Linked DNA regions of Homo sapiens: all the other regions are linked to region 2. The links are contacts of gene promoters, found by promoter capture Hi-C in blood cells and fetal thymus (Javierre and others, 2016). All regions are on one chromosome and are shown on one strand. The core of a region is centred on a gene start or on the middle of the fragment in contact, and the rest is flanking DNA. Distances in the headings are between cores, read along the strand shown.

Region 1 (2,793 bases), core at 213-2,712, 1.1 Mb before region 2:
AAGGTTAGAATATAACGTTTGCTTTGCACGGCATGGGGATTGTCCAGTTTCCTGGAGTCGGCACAACAAAGGACCGCAAACTGAGCCGCTAAAACAACAGAAATGTATTGACTCACTGTTCTGGAAGCCAGAAGTGTAAGATCCAGCAGTCCCCAGGGCTGTGCTTCTTCTGGAGGTGCGGCGGAAGGATCTGTTGCAGGCTCTTTCCTGGCTTCCACCGATTCCTTGGCAGCAGAACTCCAGTCTCCATGCAGCGTTCTCCTGTGTGTCGGCTTCTTCACCTGGCCTTCTTTTTATAAGAACACAGTCGTGTTAGATTAGGGGCCCATCCTACTCCAGTGTGACGTCGTCTTGACTGATTACCTCTAAGGAACCTCTTTCCAAACAGGGCCCCATTCTGAGGTGTTGGGGGTTAGGACCTCAACATAGGATGTTTGATGGGGGGAAAAATTCAACCCAGAAGAGGGGTGGCGGAAGCTTTATTAATAATGACACATTTTCCCAATGGCCCAGCACCTCTGGTTATGGTAAAAGGTTTCACCCACGCCTGAGGCGGGGCTTTCATTCTTCATTCCTACTGCTTTTCTCATCCTATACTCTTTTCCTGGAAGCAACCATTCTCAAGATGTAAACTGCCACCTCTATGTAGACAGCTCGCTAATGTATGTGACCAGGCCATAGTCCTTTCCTGAAATTGAGGCCTTCTTAACCCACTGCCTGTCGACACATCACCAGGTATCACCCAGATACAGAAACCTCGATGGAAGCCAAGCCTGGCCGCTTCTTCCTCAACCCCCACCTAAGGAAGGTCCCGCCCCAGGTAAAGGCGCCTCCCGTGGTCCCCAGCTAAGCTTAGCTCCTGCACAACAATCTTGGGTGCTTCCCTCCCTTTCTCCCTCCACATCCCGAGTCCCTCAGCTTCACAGATAAATTGCCTTCACATCTGTAGAATGCCACCTCTTCCTCCTTATTCCTCTGGTTTAGGCAAAAAGTGCATTTTCTCTACATAGATGGTCTTACCTTTGTTCTTCTCCAACCCATCTTCAACACTGAGACAGGAGAATTCCTTCTGAAACCCAAACCCGATCACTTCACTCTCCTATTTTAATCCTAGGACTTGCAGAATATGTTCCTGTCTCCAGCTTCAGCTTTTCTCCTCATTTTTGGAGTTCATAAGTTTTAAAGACATGTATTGAGAAACTGCTGTGTGCCTGGCACTAGTCTAGGCACGTGTAGGGTACAAGGAAGGAGTGACTGACACATTCACAAAAATGCATGTAATTTTTACCATTGAGAATGCTTTTCAAGTTTTATGTCCCAAGTCCCTAAGATCGTCTTGTAAAACTGTGCTTCACTAAAAACGAAAAGCAGTGGGAACTGACTGATCTGATCAGGAAGAGGTTAAACTGTGGATGAAATGGACCGATGGAATTTACCCATTTCTGCTCTCTGCAGCGGCACCTCCTTACCTTATTTCTGAGTACCCCAGCAAAACAGGTCTGTTTATATTTTTCAGTATACAATTATTCCTCCCTTTTCTTCCTGACCTTGGAACGCCCTGACCCTGAGGTAGACATAAGGAGAAAGCAGAGTCATTGGAATGCAATCTTTAAGAAGCCTGCAGCCTTGCTCAAGCAACACACAAAGGCAGATAGAGCAATGGCTGTGAGAAACGAAGTGAAAATAAGCAAGAAATGAAAAACGTGTAGGCAACTTAGATGTCTTCAGAGCTTGCTGACTTGGTGACCTACTAGGGCACTAAAATCAAGAGGGGAGCTCTCTGAAGATGAAGAATGTAACTCTGGCTAAAGTATCAAAGACAAAGTACTCTCTCATCAAAATAATAATAATAGTAACATGCTTCTTTATGTTGTCATATTTAGTGACACCATTCTACTTAATAATGGCTGATGAGGGCTTTTTCAGAAAATAGAAATTCTACTTTAATGATGCTTCCCTGATGAGATTTAAAATCAAAACAAAAACAAGCAAGAGAAAAAGCTGTTTGTTCTTCAAGAAACTGATAATTGATACCAGGCTATGTTATATCACAATATACCTCTCCAAAGCTTCCCTGAAACATATTCTGTCACATGGGATATTTGGTAAGTTGCATAGAATTTAGACATATCAAATTTTATATTAGAAATATGTTTGTAAAAAAGGCGTGTAAAATAAATGTTCACTAATATGCATGGTGTTGCTACAAACATTCATGTACATGTCTTTATGTGGACGTACGTTTTCGTATCTCTTGAACGTACACTGGGAGTGGAGTTGAGGATGGTATGGTAACTGGGTAGGTAACGTTCTGAAGAACTGCTATACTCTTTTACAAAGAGGTTGTATAATTTTACGTTCTTGCCAACAAAGCATGAAGAATCCAGTTTTTCCACATGTTCCCAACACTTGCTATTGCCTGTCTTTTTAAATATAGTCATTTAGTGGATATGTAGTGTTATCTTGTGGTTTTGTTTGCACTTCTTCAGTGGCTAAAATTTCAACTGATGGCTGGGTACACAAATGTGGTACATCCACACAATGGAATATTATTTGGTAATTTAAAGGATTTAAGTACTGATACATGCTGCAACATGAATGGAACTCAAAGACATTGTGATCAGGGAAAGAAGCCCTTAGTACTATGTCCTTGAGTTCATACAGCATGTGGTGGTTTTGAAAAAAGCCCACTTACATGAACTACTCAATTCTTTAGAGGCAGAAAGTATATTACTTGTTGCTGAGGGCTGGAGTCAGGGAGAATGAGGAGTGACTGCTAATTGGTACATTTCT
Region 2 (2,848 bases), core at 6-2,505:
AGAGAGAGACAGAGATACAGAGAAAGAGGGGAGGAGGGGAGAACCCTTCCCACGTCCCCCACCCGGCCACCACCTTCTTGGTAGTTATAATTTCAACATGTCATCTCATGGACACTAAAGGGTTAATGGTATACCTACCAAATCGGCTGTGGTCTTTCCTGGTTCCCTGGATAGTACCATTGGGGAAGATTTCTAAGTGAAATCCAGTCCTGCAGTATAGCTGCCTCCGCCTGAGAATCCCCTTTAAATGATCCAAGTCCGTGACTGCGGGTCCCCTGGGGAGCCCCCCTGCTTCGGACTGACCCAGGTGGTCACTTAACAAAACCGGGCTGTCCACCGGCAACACGGGCACATTCCCAAACGGTACCGCATCCTGCACACCGAAATAGTTCCCAACTTCACCTAAGGGAGCCATCAGAGGACTCGGCTTTTGGAGCACAAGAATAAACAATAATGATGGTGTCAACCCAGGAGATATTAGGCGAGGTATATCCAACTCCCCTCCCTTACTGCAGTTGCAGAGAGAGAGAGAAAAAAAAGGTTCTTTTCTTCAATCCATTAAATGCATAAATAAAAGTAATCTGCTGTTTCACTGGCACAGGTTCAAGGTCAAACCACTGATAGTCTAAGAAACCACCACTTTATACTCACACACTGACATATTGATAAACATATCTATGTATCTCTATAGATAGATCCCCAGCTCTTAGCAGGCAGGAAGGTCTTCATCCCATCCGACCGTAATAAGGAAAAAAAATCCGTAGTTTCTCCATTTGGTTTGAGATCAGAATGACCATAGCAACTTAAATGCCTAGGCGTTATTATAGGGATTTTTAAGATGCACGGGCTACGTCAGAATTTACGGATCCTGACTCCAGGAAGGCATGCGCTGTTTTTACTCTCTAACCGACTCTGCAGACATCAGCATGAATCCTTCAAGGGGAAAAAAAAATCTCACGTTGGTGGCGGCGACAAATCTCCCCTCCCGGTCCCCCCTCCAAAAAATGATAATAATAATAAAACAAAAAGAAGAAGAAACTTTAGGCGTCCAAAGCTAGTATCCAGGATTCTCCAGAGGCTCGGCAGATGTCCATTGGCTTAGAACGGGTGGCGAGCGGCGAGCGAGGAGAGCCGCGTCCGGGAGCTCGCGTGCCGCCCAGGCTGCCGCGAACAGGTGTTGCCGCGCCGGCTCGCGGAGCGTTGTAGCCGGGCGGAGCGCTCCTCCTGCGCAGCCCCCGCCGGCGCGCAGAGTGGCGCAGGCAGCGGCATTGGGCTGGGTTTAAGGTAGCGCCGCCGCAGCCCGGGCTCCCCGCGGTCCTAGCGCCCGGCTTACTGCCCGCGCCGCTCTGCGGCAGGCGAGGTGCGGCGCGCCAGAGCGCAGGACTTCCTGGGAGGCAGTCGAGGAGCCCTGGCTTTACAAAGAAAAGCAAATGAAAGATGCACTGCGAGAGGCGGGAGGAAGAAACCCTGAGTCTCCCGAGACTCAAAGTTCTCCTGCAGAATAGAAGCCGGTAACCTACAATCTAGCTGGCTGGCTACATTGATGGAGGGTCAGAGTGAAACTGGGAAACTAGTTTTCACTGGGGCTCTGTAACCTTGCGTTGTATTATAGAATATGACTGAGTTGAGAGAGTCGGAGGGAAGGGGAGTTGATTTAATGGACTCGGATGGCCATGGCAGTTTCTCTTCCATTCTTCGGCCACACACACAGAAGCGCAAACTATGTTTCAGGTAAGATCAACTCCTCTCCCCCGTCACACACACACACACACACACACACGCAGATGCGGCCACCGTTTCTGTTTTGTTTGGAGCGTTCTGCTGGGCATCTTTGGGTTGGGGCTATGTTTAGGTCCCGCCCCGCTGCTCGGGTCCCGGCGGCCGCAAAGCAGTCGGCAGGGGGGCGCCAGAGAACCTTCTCTGTCCCCGACTTCGACTCGGGCGCGCGTCTTCGGGAGTCTGGGTGGAGGGGAGCGCTCCAGTAGGCGTCTTCTCGCCCTCAAACCACGCTGCTTAGGACGAGCGGCGCCATCCCAAGCCGTGCATCGGCTCGGGGAAGCGAAAGGCGAGTTCTGGTGTCTCACTCCACCGTCCGAAGCCCGCCGCGGAGCTGGGAGGGCCGGGCACTGGATGCTTGCGGGGCGCCCCGGGGCTGCAGCCGCTCCTTCCTGCTCTGCCCTGCGGGGCCGCACGTGGAAGCCTGAGCTCCGTTGCGCGGGCTCGGGTTTCTGTTAGCCGCCGGCGGCCTTCGCGCCCAGCGGGAGTCAGGGACAAAGAAACCCGCCTCCGGGGGCCGCCAGGGGCCCTGCCGGGCCGGGCCCGCCAGAGAGACTGGAGGCGGCGCGCTCTGCGCCCGGGACAGCCTGCCTGCGCCCGGATCCCCAGTGGCGGCGGGCGCGGAGCGCGGCGCCCCCCAACACACACACACACACACACACACACACACACACACACACACTCGCCCACAGCCCTCCCGCGGGGCCCCCCTTCCCTCCCCCTGCTCCTCTTTGTTCACATTGTCTTAGAAACGGCCCGACTCTCGGGTCAAGATGGTGAAAGTTGCCGAGACTTGAGCGCAGCTCCACACTGCGGGGCGTGCAACTGAGAAGCAAAGTCGAAAGCAGAGACTGAACCCCTGCGGTGGGGAAGCGAATCAAAACCTGGTTATGGGGGAGAAGTCGGATCCGCCTTAGTAGTCAGCTAAAGGCTGGAGATGCATAACTGGGGCTGGCCCTACTCCGGACGGGAGGGCTTCGCCTGAAGACGAAAGGGAGCGATGAATTTGCAGATTTCGGGGGCGCTGGAGGTGCCAGCGACCTGGAGCGACCTTCCCCTGCCCTCCGGGGAG
Region 3 (2,897 bases), core at 264-2,763, 1.1 Mb before region 2:
GCTTCCCACAATAGTTGAACTAATTACACTCCCACCAGTAGTGTATAAGTCTTCCCTTTCTCTGCAACCTCACCAGCATCTGTTATTCTTTGACTTTTTAATAATAGTCATTCTGACTGGTGTGAGATGGTATCTTATTGTGGTTTTGATTTGCATTTCTCTAATAGTTAGTGATGATGAGCTTTTTTCATATGCTTTTTGGCCACTTGTATATCATCTTTTGAAAAGTGTTTGTTCATGTCCTTTGTCCACTTTTTAATGGGGTTGTTTGTTTATTATCTTAACCAAGATATAGAAATTTTCTATCATTACAGGATGTTTCTCGAGCCTCTCCCCAGTTAATTCCTTCTCTCAAGAGCAAAACACAATTTCTGGTTTTTTTAACCATAGTTTTTTATAACCTAGAATTTCAGGTAGCTAGCATCATATTTGTGTGTGTAGCTTGTTAAATCTATATTGTTGCATGTAGCAATAGTATTTCTTCTTTGGTAATATTCCATTCTAGAAATGTACAACAATTTTGGCCAGGCGCGATGGCTCATGCCTGTAATCCCAGCACTTTGGGAGGTCAAGGCAGGTGGATCACCTGAGGTCAGGAGTTCAAGACCAGCCTGGCCAACATGGTGAAACCTCGTCTCTACTAAAAATACAAAAATTAGGAGGCCGGGCACAGTGGCTCATGCCTGTAATCCCAACATTTTGGGAGGCTGAGGCAGGCGGATCACCTGAGGTTGGGAGTTCAAGACCAGCCTGACCAACATGGAGAAACCCCATCTCTACTAAAAATACAAAATTAGTCGGGCGTGTTGGCGCATGCCTGTAGTCCCAGCTACTAGGGACGCTGAGACAGGAGAATCACTTGAACCCAGGAGGTGGAGGTTGCGGTGAGCCGAGATTGCGGTGAGCCGAGATTGCGCCGTTGCACTCCAGCCTGGGCAACAAGAGCAAAACTCCGTCTAAAAATAAATAAGTAAATAAAAAATACAAAAATTAGCCAAGTGTGGTGGCAGGCACATGTAATCCCAGCTACTTGGGCGGCTGAGGCAAGAGAATCGCTTGAACCTGGGAGGCGTTTGTTGCAGTGAGCTGAGATTGCGCCATTGCACTCCAGCCTGGGGTACAAGAGCGACACTTAGTCTCAAAAAAAAAAAAAAAAAAAAAATAGAAATGTACTACAACTTTAAAATCTGATCTCTGGTTAATGAACATTTTAGTTGTTTGAGACATAATAAATAAAGTTGCTATAAATCTTGTTGTTCAAGCTTTGTTAACATACTTTTTTTTTGCGAAATATTTCGGTGTGGAGTTGTCGGGCCAGAGTATAGGTAAAGGTTTATTTTATAAGACACTGCCACAAATGTTTTCAAAGTGGCTGTACTATTTTCATATAACAACTATTAATGTATGAGATTGCTGTTTGCTCTACATACAGCCCCTGTTGTTTTTTTTTCAATTTTCTACATTCTGGTAGCATAGTGGTATATCGTGCTTTTATATGCATTTTTCAAATGATGAATAATGTTGACTATCTTTTCATATGCGTTTTGGCTATTTGTATGTCTTCCATTTTAAAGTGTTTATCGAGTCTTTTGCATATTTTAAAATTGGGTTGTTTATCTTTTTCACGGAGTTGTAGCTATCTTTTGTGTATTTGGGATAACAGTTCTTTGTCAGATAAATGTTTTGCATACATTTTCTCCCATTTTCTCTGTTACTTGCCTACTCATTTTCTTAGGAGTATGTTTTTTGATTAACAGAAGCTTTTTTATTTGAATGTAATCCAACTTGTAATTATTTTGCCTTTATAATTAGTAATTTCTGTGTTGAGTCCAAGAAATATCTATTTGGCTACAAAGAACTTCTCTCATGTTTTTTTCCCCCTCAAAATGTTAAAGTTTTAGTTATTATGTTGGGTTTGTGATCCATCTTGAATTAACTTTTGTATACTCTGTGAGATAGAGGTTGAATTTTATTTTAGCTTTCCCTTGTAGCTATTCATTTTTTCCAAAGTATTTATTAAAAAGATTTCCCTTTGCTCATTGAATTATTTCAGTGCCTTTGTTGGAAATCAGCCTTTGTTGGAAATTAGTTAACCTCATAAGTGTGAATTTACTTCTGCACTGTATATTCTGCTCCATTGAACTATACTTGTCCATCTTTATTCCAGTGTCACACTGTCCTGACTAGGGTAGCTTTATAGTATGTCTTGAAATCAGATAGTGTACACCCTTTGTTCTTTCTTCCTGTTTTTTGGTACACATTTCTTATTTACTTATTTATTTTTAATTGACAAAATTGTATATAATTATGTACAACATGATGTTTTGAAATATATATATATATATACACACATTTTTGAATGGCTAAATTGAGCTAATTAACATGTGCATTACCTCACATTTTATTTTGTGGTGAGGACACTTAAAATCTAGCAATTCTTAGTAATTTTAAAAAATACAACACAATATTGACTATAGTCACAATCTTGTACAATAGGTCTCTTGACCTTATTCTTCCTAACTGAAATTTTGTATCCTTTGACCAGCATCACCCCAACCTCTCCCCAAACCCCAACCCTTGCTAATCTCCTTCTATTTTCTACATCTGAGTTCAGCTTTTTTAGATTCCACATAGAAGTGAGATCAAGCAGTATTTTTTTGTGTCTGGCTTATTTCATTTAACATAGTGTCTTTCAGTTTTATCCATGTTGTCACAAATGACAGGATTTTCTTCTTTTTTAAGGCTAACATTATGTTGCGTGTATATTCCACATTTCTTTATCCATGCATTCATTGATGGATACTTATGTTGTTTATGTTGTTTCCATACCTTGGCTACTGTGAATAATGCTGGAATGAACATGCAGTGCACATATATTTTTGGCATACTGATTCTAT
Region 4 (2,700 bases), core at 173-2,672, 1.1 Mb before region 2:
TATCTGTATAGATTAGGTGAATTCTGCTCAATTCTCTTCATGAAAAGGGCACGGATTCTCTTTGGTGCAGATTATCTCTGAGGCTCAAATGTTTCAGCAATTAAATATTACAATTTGAAATGCAGTATAATTTGCTTTCTGCAGCTTAAAAGTTTTCTTTAATATCGCAACAATCATTTGCAAATGTAAGGGGGAACTTCCCATAAATTTTACTTTCTTTGTTGTGCACAGTGTTAGTGTATTGTTGTAGTCTGCTATTTGAAATGTATAGCTTGTGTTGTAGTGAGTTGTAGTCTCATGTTCTTTCTTTATTCCTCTTTTTTTACACTTGTGTGTGTACACACACCTACGTATGCATATTTTCATAGTTCTCTATTAACATTTTTGGCATCCCTCTATGGGAACACACTATCTCCAAATATTAATAACCTGTTATTCTGAAGAATTGGCAAGGAAGGGATGCTAGAATCCTCTTTAAATAAAAATACAATGCTGCTTAACATATCAGGGCAAATACTTCAAAACATTCTAGGGGAAATGGTGAATTAGTGCCTGAATACCATAACATACTAAGTATAAGCCAATCAACTTTGTTTAAAAAAGGTCATCTCAACCAAATTTAAGTGTAATTCTCAGATAAGATAACAACCCGAGTAGATATCAAGACTCTGGTGGGTTAAGGTCACCTTCCTGGAGAATCACTGAGTTGAATGATTTTATAATAGGTTGGAGGACTCTGGAAGGAATGCATATTAGTAGAGTTAGATGGCTTCAAAACTAGTTTAAAATGAATCTGTCTAGACAGGAGTCGATGTTAGTGTCTGGGAAGAGTATTTATAGACACCTCTTTGATATCTATACAACATTTTCTCCTATGGAATATTTATTATTGTCCAAAAAGAGGAAAATGAGTTAGCACAATGTTCACATTTTTAGTATATCCAAATTAGGTTGGGTACAAGGAGACATTTTCTAATTAGTTTCAAGGAATTATATTTTAATATGTTTTTAAAAGAAATCAAATACTTTGATGAAAAGGAAATATAAGGTAAAGCAAGAGTTAAATTTTAAGCTGGAAAAAAATTAAGGTGCTTTTACAATGAAGTGCCTCTCTGAAAGTATAAAACTTAGATGAACTGTAAAGATCAAAAACTTGGTGATAAAATGATGACATTAGAGAAAATGAAAAATTGTATGAAAGTAGTAATGTCTGGAAATTGTTGAGCTCATTCAGGCAGGAGGAAAGATAATGAAAGCGGATAATGGACTGTAATTAAGTGCTCAGACCTCCTGCAAACCCGTGTGAAAGTCAAGTTACTTTTGTTCAAGATAGAAACCCCAAAGCCTTGGCAAGAAGTACCAAGAATTCTTTTCAAAGAATAAACACACTGAAAGATTTCTTTGAAACACACACACACACACACACACACACACACACACACGTACACACATAGTTCTCACCCATTTAAGGAGACCATTTATTATTCTACTTACAACCAAAGTGAAATCTGGTACCATTATCCTTGCTTGTGATTTAATGGCGTAGAATGTTGACAGAGAGAAGTCTCTGATGGAAACATCAGAAGAAATTGCTTTGTAATTCCGCAGAGATTATTACTGACTGCTTAGACAAATCTTTAGCAAGATAGCCAAGCATTTTCAGAGCAAGTAACCTCTCTGTGCTGTGATTTGGGTGATGTAAAGGTTGTCCACCCCAAAATATTGCAGATGAGTCAGCCATGGTACCCAGTGATAATTGCCCTCCCTGTGAGGATGCATTTCATGGGAATGTGACAGTAATCTATAGCTCACTGTGTATTTGGGGAGATGAGACTAAGCAGGTGAAATTTAATTAATTTTCTAGGGATGTCATTTGGTGTCATGAGAAAGGCATAAGTGTTAAAATTAAACCAAAACTGGCCGGGCGCGGTGGCTCATGCCTGTAATCCCAGCACTTTAGGAGGCCGAGGCGGGTGGATCACGAGGTCAGGAGCTCGAGACCATCCTGGATAACACCGTGAAACCCCATTCTACTAAAAATACAAACAAATTAGCCGGGCGTGCTGGCGGGCCCCTGTAGTCCCAGCTACTCGGGAGGCTGAGGCAGGAGAATGGCGTGAACCCGGGAGGCGGAGCTTGTGGTGAGCCGAGATCGTGCCACTGCACTTCAGCCTGGGCGACAGAGCAAGACTCTGTCTTAAAAACAAAAAACAAAAAACAAAAAAACACAAAACAAAAAAAAAAAACTAACAAAAAAATGGGTTGGAAAGCCAGCTCCACCACAACCTAATTTGGGACTTGAGACTTGCTAACTAACTGTTGAAGTCCCACTTTCCACACCTGTAAAGCGGGAATGATCATCTCAATCTGACAGTATTGTTGGAAAGATGAGATAACATAGGAAAACTAACTGACTTATAATAGGTGCTCAATGTAGGATTGCTTTTACTATTACAAAATTAATTGTCCAAACAATAAACAGTGTCTCTGTGTAATTCTTTAGTCTAGATTCTGTAACAAGTGCTATAAGTTCTATAGTAGATTGACATTCTTGCATGTCAGAAATATTTATCTTCATATATCTAGTACTTGACACAGAACAAGGCATGGAGTATGTATTTAGAACTTACCTCTTCAATTTGAATTATACTGCAATTGATTCTCTACACTGTTTATATTTTTAGGTAAGTTTGGGGAAAG

What was found. Contacts are between HindIII fragments. The CHiCAGO score rates a contact against its expected background, and 5 or more counts as called.
Region 1: a fragment that was not itself captured here is called in contact with the fragment with the promoter of FGF9 in region 2 in 5 of 17 cell types (M0 macrophages, M1 macrophages, M2 macrophages and 2 more); the score reaches 10.7 in M0 macrophages.
Region 3: a fragment that was not itself captured here is called in contact with the fragment with the promoter of FGF9 in region 2 in 4 of 17 cell types (M2 macrophages, M1 macrophages, M0 macrophages and 1 more); the score reaches 8.8 in M2 macrophages.
Region 4: a fragment that was not itself captured here is called in contact with the fragment with the promoter of FGF9 in region 2 in 2 of 17 cell types (erythroblasts and M2 macrophages); the score reaches 7.0 in erythroblasts.

Annotation. Positions count from the first base shown.
Region 1 is chr13:22,791,029-22,793,821 of GRCh38, reverse strand. No RefSeq gene overlaps it. Among named protein-coding and RNA genes, the nearest start is that of LINC00621, 120 kb to the left of the region's middle. The HindIII fragment of the contact is 1,218 bases long and covers 854-2,071 here.
Region 2 is chr13:21,669,480-21,672,327 of GRCh38, reverse strand. It overlaps FGF9 (fibroblast growth factor 9), which reads right to left and starts at 1,255. Exons shown (of 3, transcript NM_002010.3): 1 at 139-1,255. The coding sequence starts at 415. RefSeq lists silencers at 1,268-1,327, 1,348-1,397, 2,178-2,437. The HindIII fragment of the contact is 3,792 bases long and covers 1-2,848 here.
Region 3 is chr13:22,807,099-22,809,995 of GRCh38, reverse strand. No RefSeq gene overlaps it. Among named protein-coding and RNA genes, the nearest start is that of LINC00621, 110 kb to the left of the region's middle. The HindIII fragment of the contact is 498 bases long and covers 1,265-1,762 here.
Region 4 is chr13:22,762,176-22,764,875 of GRCh38, reverse strand. No RefSeq gene overlaps it. Among named protein-coding and RNA genes, the nearest start is that of LINC00621, 150 kb to the left of the region's middle. The HindIII fragment of the contact is 4,450 bases long and covers 1-2,700 here.